Linked DNA regions of Homo sapiens: region 1 is linked to region 2. The links are contacts of gene promoters, found by promoter capture Hi-C in blood cells and fetal thymus (Javierre and others, 2016). All regions are on one chromosome and are shown on one strand. Each heading gives the region's core, a stretch centred on a gene start or on the middle of the fragment in contact. The rest is flanking DNA. Distances are from core to core; before and after follow the strand shown. Region 1 overlaps ANKRD55 (ankyrin repeat domain 55). Region 2 holds the start of IL6ST (interleukin 6 cytokine family signal transducer).

Region 1 (4,906 bases), core at 1,446-3,945, 100 kb after region 2:
TCAAGGGAAATGGAGCTCATCCTTCTGAGGGTGAGGCCAGGCCTTGGCTTGCCCATTGCAGAGGACAATTCTCTGGGCTCTAAAATGTGGCTTTGCTTCCTCATAACCTGTCGTTTTTTATTATCAGTGTCTAAGTAGTCAGTAAGTGTCATTGGCTTCTCTTAAAAGCCTTTTGGAAGTACTTTTATGTCACATGAATAGAAGCAATGGAGATAATTTCCTTCCTTCACCTTCGTTCACTGTTATGTCTTTGGCCCAGGTTCACTTTCAGCACACTGGAGACATTGCTCATGGTCATCTGTTTGTAACTGGGTTCAGTTCTTGGTTTCACTGCTCATGCGGGGTCATTTGCAGTCTCCTCCGTCCTCCTCCCACCTTCCAATCTCACAGTCTACAGAAATTTCAGTTCCCTATCTTTCATGTCAGCCAGTTAGATTGTACCTCATCCTTTGAAGGGAACTGGGAATCTTTCTTTTGCTCTCATTTTCCCCAGTTTGTAGACCACTAGCAGTGGCAAGGTGGTTTACCATTCACCATTAATAAACATTTTACTAGGGGTTTAATAATCAACATGTTATTTCCTGTTTTTCACACATCAATGTGAAAACTACCTTTGTCTCTCTAGTGACAATTGTGCTGGTGTGACATACTGAATGGAAACTGTTCAGCTTTCAAAAACTCATTCAGCTGTCCAAAAAAACCAGGGTTAGACTGGAATGGGGTCAGAATACAAAGGCATTTGCTTTGAAAGACTATAGTTTCTATTGGAACATACAGTTTGTTGACAGTCTTCATCCACTAGTACTTACATTTCTTTGTCAATGTCTAGGAAATATGTGATTCTAACAGAATTCTCTGATTTCAAAATATCATTTTTCCCTTGAAGACCATCAGAGAGTCTCACTACTACATGTGAGAGGTGCCATCATGTTTCTTTATTAATTTAGTTTTTGATTTGGGCATTATATTTTATGCTAAGGTAAAATATGTTCCTTCTTAGTTACCCCATTTAAACCTAGAGTGGATTCCAAAAGGTTGTTTTCAAAAGATTACCTTTAAAATGCCAGGATGCACATGCTTAGAGACATGCATTTGTAAATTTCAAAAAAAAAAAAAAAAAAAAAAGGTAGAGGCAAAAGTAAAATTAATGCTTATGATTGTCTTTCTGGAAGGCATTACAGATGGTCCTTGACTTATGATCATTCAACTTATGATTTTTTGACTTTACTTCAAGCACCTATACAATCATTCTGTTTTTCACTTTCAGTATAGTATTTAATAAATTACATGAGATAGTCAACACTGTTATAACGTAGGCTTTGTGTTAGATAATTTTGTTCTGCTGTAGGCTATTATGAGTGTTCTGAGCACATTAAAGGTAGGCTAGGATAAGCTATGATGTTTGGTAGGTTAAGTGCGTTAAATGTATTTTTGGGCTGGGCGTGGTGGCTTATGCCTGTAATCCCAGCACTTTGGGAGGCCGAGGAGGGAGGATTGCTTGAGCCCAGGAGTTTGAGACCAGCCTGGGCAACATGGCAAAACTTCATCTCTACTAAAAATATAAAAAAGTAGCTAGATGTGGTGGTGTACACCTTGTAGTCCCAGCTACTTGGGAGGCTGAGTTTGGGGAATCACCTGAGCCTGGGAAGTTGAGGCTGTAATGAGCCATGATCACACCACTGCACTCCAGCCTGGGTGACAGAGTGAGACCTGTCTCAAAAAATTAAAAAAAAAAAAAATCGACAACGCTATTTTCACCTTACAATGGGTTTGTTGGGACATAATTCCATCATAACATGAGGAGCATGTGCATATTTCTCATCATGGTGGGGTTTTCTAAAATGAGACTGAGTGCCAAGTTGTGCTGTGGTAGAGCTGAAACGGATAATAAGCTGGAGCCACAGCAATCTATTTATATTGGTTTACTTCCAGCAAGATGAGAACATTGGAATTCAGTGTTTACTGGAAGAAATAACACCTATGTTAAACCAGGTGATTACCAAAGGGAACTAAGAAAAATGAAAAAAAATCAGCAACCCTAACTTCCAACAACTCTAACTGGTTTAGCACAAAGTACTGAGTTGGTGGGCACTTTCCACAAATTGCCTGTGTAGATGTACAAACCCAATAAACAAATTCAGGAAGAAGGCTTTGCCCAGGGTATACCACACTATGAAATTTGAATGAATTTTCTGGAACAGGAAAATGATGGTTTGGGGATTATATATGTGAATTATGGGACTAGAGAGACCTCACTTTTCTTTCTTTTTGAGACGGAGTCTCGGTCTGTCACCAGGCTGGAGTGCAGTGGCGCAATCTCCCGGGTTCAAGCGATTCTCCTGCCTCAGCCTCCCGAGCGCCACCACGCCCAGCTAACTTTTTTTTTTTTTTTGAGACTCTGTCGCCCAGGCTGGAGTGCAGTGGTGCGATCTTGGCTCACTGCAAGCTCCGCCCCCTGGGTTCACGCCATTCTTCTGCCTCAGCCTCCTGAGTAGCTGGGAATACAGGCGCCCGCCACTACGCCCGGCTAATTTTTTGTGTATTTAGTAAAGACGGGGTTTCGCCGTGTTAGCCAGGATGGTCTCGATCTCTTGACCTCGTGATCCGCCCACCTCGGCCTCCTAAAGTGCTGAGATTACAGCCGTGAGCCACCGTGCACGGTCAGAATACATTTCTTTACTTCTTTTGAAGTTAGGCATGTCCACACAGTTTGACTTGGCAAATGAAATGTGAGAGTAAATAATGAGATTCACCTCTCATTTCCTCTGGTTTGGTCACCAAAGAAGAACATATTGAAATGGAATCTACATCAGCCAACTCTGCCGGCTGGTATGAGACATGTATTGTGAATAAGAAACAAACCGTGTCAGCCAGTGAGATTTGGAGGTTGTTTATTGTTAAAGTGGAAGCTAGCCTACCCTGACTGATGCAGGCAGTGTAGGGCTAGGTAATCTACTTGTGGATGGACATGGATTCAGAAGTAGCCTGTGACACAGCTGAACAACTTAACAGTCTGATGCCAAACAACCTAACAGGTTGATGCTTAAAGAATGACTCTTCAAAGATGAGAACAGCCCACAAACAAAACAAAACAACACAAAAGGAAAATTCTTCAGAAGCTATGTCCTGAAGTCCTTCTGTTTGTAACAGGACTTTCTTTCCCTCTAGCTACTGCCCAGCTTGGAAGGCTGATCCGTACACTTTCTCCTTTACAATCTCTGATTCATGCAACTATCATCGTCAAAAAGAGATTGTGGACTAGGCTGGGTGTGGTGGCTCAGGCCTGTAATCCCAGCACTTTGGGAGGCCAAGGTGGGTGGATCACCTGAGGTCAAGAGTTCGAGACCAGCCTGGCCAACATGGCAAAACCTGTCTCTATTAAAAATACAAAAAAATTAGCCGGGCATGGTAGCGTGTGCCTGTAATCCCAGCTACTCGGGAGGCTGAGACAGGAGAATCCCTTGAACCCAGCAGGCAGAGGTGGCAGTGAGCTGAGATTGCGCCACTGCACTCCAGCCTGGGCGACAGAGGGAGACTCCATCTTAAAAAAGAAAAAAAAGAGATTGTGGACTAATGACATCTTTTATGATTGCTTTCTACATCCCCCTTCCTTGCCAACTCCCTCTTTGCCTCTCTACTTCCTTCCTTCCTGAAAAAAAATGAAATGATCAAGTGCCTACTTTGTGCCAGGCATTGTATAAATTTCTAGAAGTGCAAAGCCAAAGGATTGTGATTTGGCCCCAGAGGAGTGTCTATCTAGTTAATGGTATAGTCTAACCTTTCCAAACAAATACTACTAATATAAAGTGGTGAATGTTATACAGGTACTTGAGATATTCACAAAATAATATCTAGGCTCCCAAATAACATAGAGTGGCCATCATCTTATGTGGCTAAGCCTTGAACTTTATGCAGACCCCTAGCACAAATCAATCCAAACAACACATAATTATCTTAGTAAGATCCGCAGTTAGTTGTAGTCATTCAAAACTTTGCTAAGTCTTAAGTTTGCGAAAGTCTTGAGTAGGCAAGAGACCATTATTTTGAAACAGAAAAATAGTTAAATATGTAGAGTATTTGAGAAATGTGTGAGAACTGCCTATTCAACTCTGTTGGGCCAGGATGTAGATCTTTCCAAATCACATGACTTCTCCCTGTTGGCACAATCAATCATATCTGAAAATGATGACATATGGAAATAATTAAATAACAAAGAAGAGAGATAAACATTGTCAAGTGACTTGGGCTGTAGCCAGGAACTGACAATGTTAAAAAATATTTTGCAGAAGATTGTACATTTAAAAGCCGTAAACTGTGACTGATCATAGGAATTTATTTTTAAATAGGTTTCATTAGTTCAAGTTAGAATGACAATAAATGTGAAGACATGTTTGTCTGGGATGTGGTTTTTTTTTTGTTTTGTTTTTTGCTTTTATTCAGCAAAGCGTACTTTTTTTCCCAAAACATAAAATCATTCAGCAAAAAAACAACCAAAGAACAATAACAAAAAAACAGTGCACATGCCACAAAGCAAACCAAACATAGCTCAGTTTTCCTACTGATAACATATTTTGTCTTTTAATTTTGGCATGTGGAAGTCACAGAAATTCACAGACTTAATATGCACACCCAAATATTCTAAGTGCTTATTTAGGGAGTATCTTTATTTGGAATAAAGAATTTCGAGTTATAAAACTGATGGCTTATAGAATGCAGCTTACTAAATTGGTCTTCGTTCTTACAAACTGGAGTAATCTTGTCCTTTGAGAGTTGAAAATACATATTCATCTACATTTCTGCAGCGAGTGGCCCACAGTTAATTTTCATCACTGGTGGGGTTGGCAGAATGTTCACTCTCTTCTGCTGCTGTGCTGTGTCTTCGTTGACTTGGAATTGCAGGAAGCAC
Region 2 (5,220 bases), core at 1,563-4,062:
TGTACTCTTACATCATTCCCTAACAGGACTCAGAACACTGCACAGTAATTGTTTCACATATCTTGATATCCTCAGAATCTACCATAGTTTGAGGCACCTGGTGGACAATTAAGGGTGGGTTTTTATAGACTTTCTGGTATGATCTTATTTTCTATCTACTCGCTGTCGCTCAAGCGTACTGTATGGAGACGCAGGATGTATCATGGTTAAGAGGTCAGATTCTGAAGCCAGGCTGTCTATGTATGACCTTTAGATCTACCACTTAGCTGGGCAAATTAATTAACCTTCTTGTGCCTGGGTTTCCCTATGTGTAAAAAGAGGATTTTATCCTATTATTATTAGACCTACTTCATAATATTATGAAGATTAAATGCCTTAATATGGGCAAAGTGCTCAAAACAGCAACTGGCACAACATAAGCACTAAATATATTGCCTGTTTTAATTAATAGACCTTAGTTACTGCTGATCCTTTCCACAAGCTAGTCCTATATTATGTTCTATATTCTCCATTCTACATTTTGTCCTCCATTCGCTATTATTAATGGGCTGTCTTCATTTTTCCCTTTATCCAAATCCTACCCAGGTTTCAAGGCCAACTTCTGGTAAATCCTTTGCTCATTCCAATCCTTAAATGCTCACTCCAATCCTTAAACGATCATTCCCTAATTTTAATATCTACAGGATTTTCTGCATCACTCTGCATTTAATTAAAACTGCTTTGCATCCTTGTAGTTTTTTTCGTATAAGTTTGTCAATCCAATTATTATAAACTCTTTGAAGGTCCTGATTACATCTCCTGCACCTTTGTGAGTTCGTACAGCAGGTAGTAATTGCTTAGTATTTGCTGTGTAAAATAATAAAGCACAATAGGAACCTCAACTCTGATCATTCTGCCTTTGCAATCAAAGAAACGGAGAAGCTGTGAGAACATTCCATGCTTCTCTAGGAGCCAAGCTGCAAATGTATTAGGGCCAGAGAATTCTGACTCCCATTAAAATGAGCAGCTCTGAAAGGAGGGAGCGGGGAATCCCTCCCTGCCACTGTAGAGGATTTATGGGTTGCCCTTAAGTTCCCAAACCAAATTGTGGCACTGGGGTTTTTATGAGAAACGTGTCAACATGACAAAATGATTCAGAGCACAGGATTTGGAGTCACACAGATCTAGTTTTCAGCGAGACTCCTGTTTCCTTCTCTATAAAGGGGACATTTTAACACCTACTTCACATGTATTTAACTTTCGCCCTAACACTGAACTGAAGTGCAAAGCCTTGGAAACAAATTTAAATAAATTGAAAATACTGCAATTCACAAATAAGAGTGAGAACAACATTTTTAGTTACGTAAGACTATATTATATTAAATTAGGTGGCAGCAGTATTTATAATAATCTAAATTGCCTGTGAGAAAATTAAACTGGTATTGTCAATACATACTTAAAATAAGAAAAAAATCCCACTACAGTCTGTCCTTTTTGACACTTTCTCCTTCCTGTAATTTTTTTCTTTCACTCAAGATTAAAAACAAACGTTCAAGATTATCCCTAAAGAGAAATAGTTGGAAAGCACAATTTAATAGCAAGTTGGTTCTATAAATGTAATATTTCAGTTCATAGTTCAAAAATACTTCCAAATAGGAATTAACATGAATTTAAGAAATTAACATAATGGCACACAGCTAAACTGATGATCTGAGTCCGTAATTTCAAATTAAGAGTTGTTCCAACTTGAAGCTGGCAGTCATACACAGTTTAAAGGGTTTGTTTACAGCACTGTCAAAAGCAAATACCACAATCTTTCAGAAAATTCACCCTGGCATTCTAATAACTAGTTATTTTAAGGCAGTATAATTGTTGAAATACTTCACAAACTAAGCCAAAATGCGTTTCCTTCTGAAGGCAAAAAAAAAAAAAAAAAAAAAAGGTGACGTCTTATTTTTAACCTGTGATTTTTTTTTTTTTTCAGTTTCGGATTATGAAATAAAATGCTGTTCATCCACTGAAGAACAGACCCTTGCTTCCTGCACTATCTTCAAAAGTTTAGGTCGGAGGAGGTAAAATTTTAAAAACTGATTTGTTCTCCTTGGGATACAGTGAGATGTGGAATTCGTTAGGAATGATAATTATTAATAGAAAAGATCAAAAGAAGGAAAGAAACGTTAATAGTGTTTATAAGCATTGTGAACTTTCAACAAAGCTGAAACGTTACGATTTCAAGATGAAAAAACGGCTTTGGGGAAGGGAAATCCACCTCGAGAATGAAGACAAGTGCGGAGCGAATAGAATTTCAGGGGAGATGAAAAGGGGATTGGGAAAAACGTGGGATCTGGTAACAAAAAGGGGGGTTTGTTCTTGAAGGGCGTTCTGCGGGGCGGGCGTTAAGAGGGGTGCGTGCGTGCGCCTGGGTGAAGTTTGTACTCAGGGCTGCGATAATCGAGGTGACAAAGTTGTGGAAGTAGAATTCGGAGGTCCGGGAGCAGGAAGGGGAAGGAATGTGGGGATTTCCAGGCTGGGCTGACAAGTTCCGGGCGCTGCTCTCAGGGGGAAGGGAGGTCTCCTCGAGTGCCAGATAGCCCGTCCGAAACCACCGACACTCTAACTCCAGCTACGCGACCCAGCACCCGGCCCCTCCTCACCTCAGGCCGCGCCGCCTCGACCCTCCGCGTCTCCACAGCGCACGAACCCCTTGGCGCCAGGCTGGGCCAGACCCGTCGGCCTGGCAGGCGCGGCCCCCGGTTCAGCTGCGCCGGGGCGGCCCAGCGCGACTCCGCGGGCCTTTTGGCTGCTCGCCCCGGCTCCGGAACACTGTCAGATCCTTCTCCGCAGAGGTAGCGCGCCACCCCAGTCCCGCGGCGGGGCGGGGCGCTCCCCAATCCCGCCCAGCTGCGCCCCCGGCCGGCCAACGCTGCGCCCCGCCCCCTACCGGGACCTAGGCGCTGATTGGCCCCTGAGAGACCCTTTGCGCCCAGGCATTGGTCCAGTGGCCGCCTGTCGACGAGGGGGCGGGACTCCGAGGGGTAGCGATTCCCGTAACGCGGCTCTTCGCGTCCCGGATTCCGGTGGCTGCGTCCGCGTCGCCTCTCCCAGACTAGATCGAAGGGTTCCCCCCACCTCCCCTCTGTGGGCGGAAAGAGCGGAATGTTCCATTTTTCTGTGGAATAACGGGGTCATGAACTGGAGCCCGGGTGCTGCCCGCCGCCCGCTGCCCCCGCCCTCCCTTCTCGCCAGGGCGCCTGCGGCCTCTCTTCGCGGCCTTCCCCGAGGGACTCAGAGCCGCGAGGGACCGCCTAGCTCCCTTGGGGATGGGGAAGGCGTGGGAGCCTCTTGGGGAAAGTGAAGAGCTCGGTGGCCGTGACTCCGCACGAGACTGCGGCAGATTGTGGCGGCGGCTTCTCTCCAAGACTTACGTAAACGAGCCTTGCCACAGTACTTTTTTAAATTAGTAAATGAGTTTGGGTGCGATTGATCAGTGAGCCCCAGAGGTGGTGGCCCACCAAGCGACTAGTGTTTCTTTGCGGTTTGTACCTCCCCGTTTATGATAAAAAATACCGGGTAAAAACCTATTCATCCCGCCTCCGCCCCCCCCTTTCCCTCAGAAAATGGACCTCAAGGCTCATGATGTTTGTTTCTCCCCAAAGGAAGATGAGAATCTTGAGTTAAAAGATAAGGCATGTGCGTGCGTGCGTGTGGGGTGTGTGCGTGGGTGTCTGTAAAAGTAAACACCCAAAGGTAGAGGTTTTTGTGGAAGAATGAGAGGATATAGGAAGGAAATAATGGTTTAATGAACTTAAATTATATCCATAAATTAACAATTATAAAGTTCTTCATTATATTGAGGATTCAGATAGAGTAAAACATAGATCGAATTTTAATCTCTTAGTTGTTGATCAGATAATTTATAAAAGGGCAAAGTGGGCCTGCTAACGGAGTCGCAGGCAAAGTAGATGGTGCTGCAGCTGATGTGTTCAGCTCTTGCTCCTCCCTGTCATCCTATATCTAACCTATAGATTGTGACCAGATTCTGTTCTAGCTTTGCCATTTAGAGGGGTGTTTATTTTAAAACAAATTTTTATAAAAATTTGTTAAATTGAAAATTTTGTATAGATCCAGGAAACTTGATTTTTTTGTTGTTGTTCACAGTCTCACTCTGTCACCCAGGCTGGAGTGCAGTGGCTGGATCATGCTCACCGCACGTTCAAATTCCTGGGCTCTAGCGATCCTCCCACCTCAACCTCCCAAGTATCTCAGACTACAGGTGCCCCTACAATACCTGGCCAATTTTTAAAATTTTTGGAGAGACAAGATTTTGGTATGCTGACCCGGCTGGTCTTGAACTGCTGGCAACAAACGATCCTCCGGCCTTAGTGGCCTCCCAAAGTGCTGAGATAACAGGTGTGATGCAAAGATGTATTTAGGGGAGATGTATAGTGGTTAAATGTACCCTCTGGTTCTAGATTGCCTAGGTTTAAATGCTGATGCCTCTATTTCTCATCTCTGTGACCTTGGGCAAGTCTTTTCAAATTTCTTCATCTGCAAAATGAGAATAACAATACCAACCTAACAGGATTGTTGCAAGGATTAAATGAGTTAAAATACATACAGTGTTTGGCACATAGTAGGTGCTCTGTAAGTATCAGCTATAATCATTATTGAATGTCTACTCGGTCAACACTTCTGAAATATTTTAGTATCACAACATATATTAAAAATGATGATATTTTGCTGGACGGGGAAGGGCAGGTACACAGAAGTGGATTGATATGTCACAACACACCAGCCTGCCTTGGCACCATTAGGAAAACAAATGACTGAGTTAGTGCTTTTATGGGTGTCTTTTTATTGGCTCAGCTCAGGTCCTGCTCCCAAGAAACTCACATTTTATGGGAGTAGTTAAAGTCTGAGGCCAAAAGGATGAATCAATATTGGAGAAGTATTTTTCAGAGCAACAGGACGGAAGACCTCTGCTGTGCTGGAATTACATGACTTTGCAGATACCTCTGTAGAGTATTGGCCTTGAAATTACGAATTTCAGATTAAGGATTTGTTACTAGAAAGCCTTGTCAAAATGCAAAGGTAAGTAGGGGAAAGTAGTATATTAATGGAGAACTCTCCATTTGTGTCCTGTGACCATTTGAGATTTTAGATATGTCAAGAGCAGGCCGGGTGCAGTGGCTCACACCTGTAATCCCAGCATTTTGGGAGGCTGAGGCAGGCGGATCACTT

The links. Contacts are between HindIII fragments. The CHiCAGO score rates a contact against its expected background, and 5 or more counts as called.
Region 1: a fragment that was not itself captured here is called in contact with the fragment with the promoter of IL6ST in region 2 in 3 of 17 cell types (non-activated CD4 T cells, naive CD4 T cells and activated CD4 T cells); the score reaches 5.9 in non-activated CD4 T cells.

What each region holds. Positions count from the first base shown.
Region 1 is chr5:56,095,367-56,100,272 of GRCh38, forward strand. ANKRD55 (ankyrin repeat domain 55) reads right to left here. Exons shown (of 12, transcript NM_024669.3): 12 at 4,314-4,906. The coding sequence ends at 4,817. Among named protein-coding and RNA genes, the nearest start is that of IL6ST-DT, 100 kb to the left of the region's middle. The HindIII fragment of the contact is 7,933 bases long and covers 1-4,906 here.
Region 2 is chr5:55,992,151-55,997,370 of GRCh38, forward strand. It overlaps IL6ST (interleukin 6 cytokine family signal transducer), which reads right to left and starts at 2,813. Exons shown (of 17, transcript NM_002184.4): 1 at 2,634-2,813. It overlaps IL6ST-DT (IL6ST divergent transcript), which reads left to right and starts at 3,017. Exons shown (of 2, transcript NR_102755.1): 1 at 3,017-3,404. RefSeq lists cis regulatory regions at 1,581-3,899, 2,593-3,266, a silencer at 2,544-3,023 and an enhancer at 2,855-3,366. The HindIII fragment of the contact is 8,053 bases long and covers 1-5,220 here.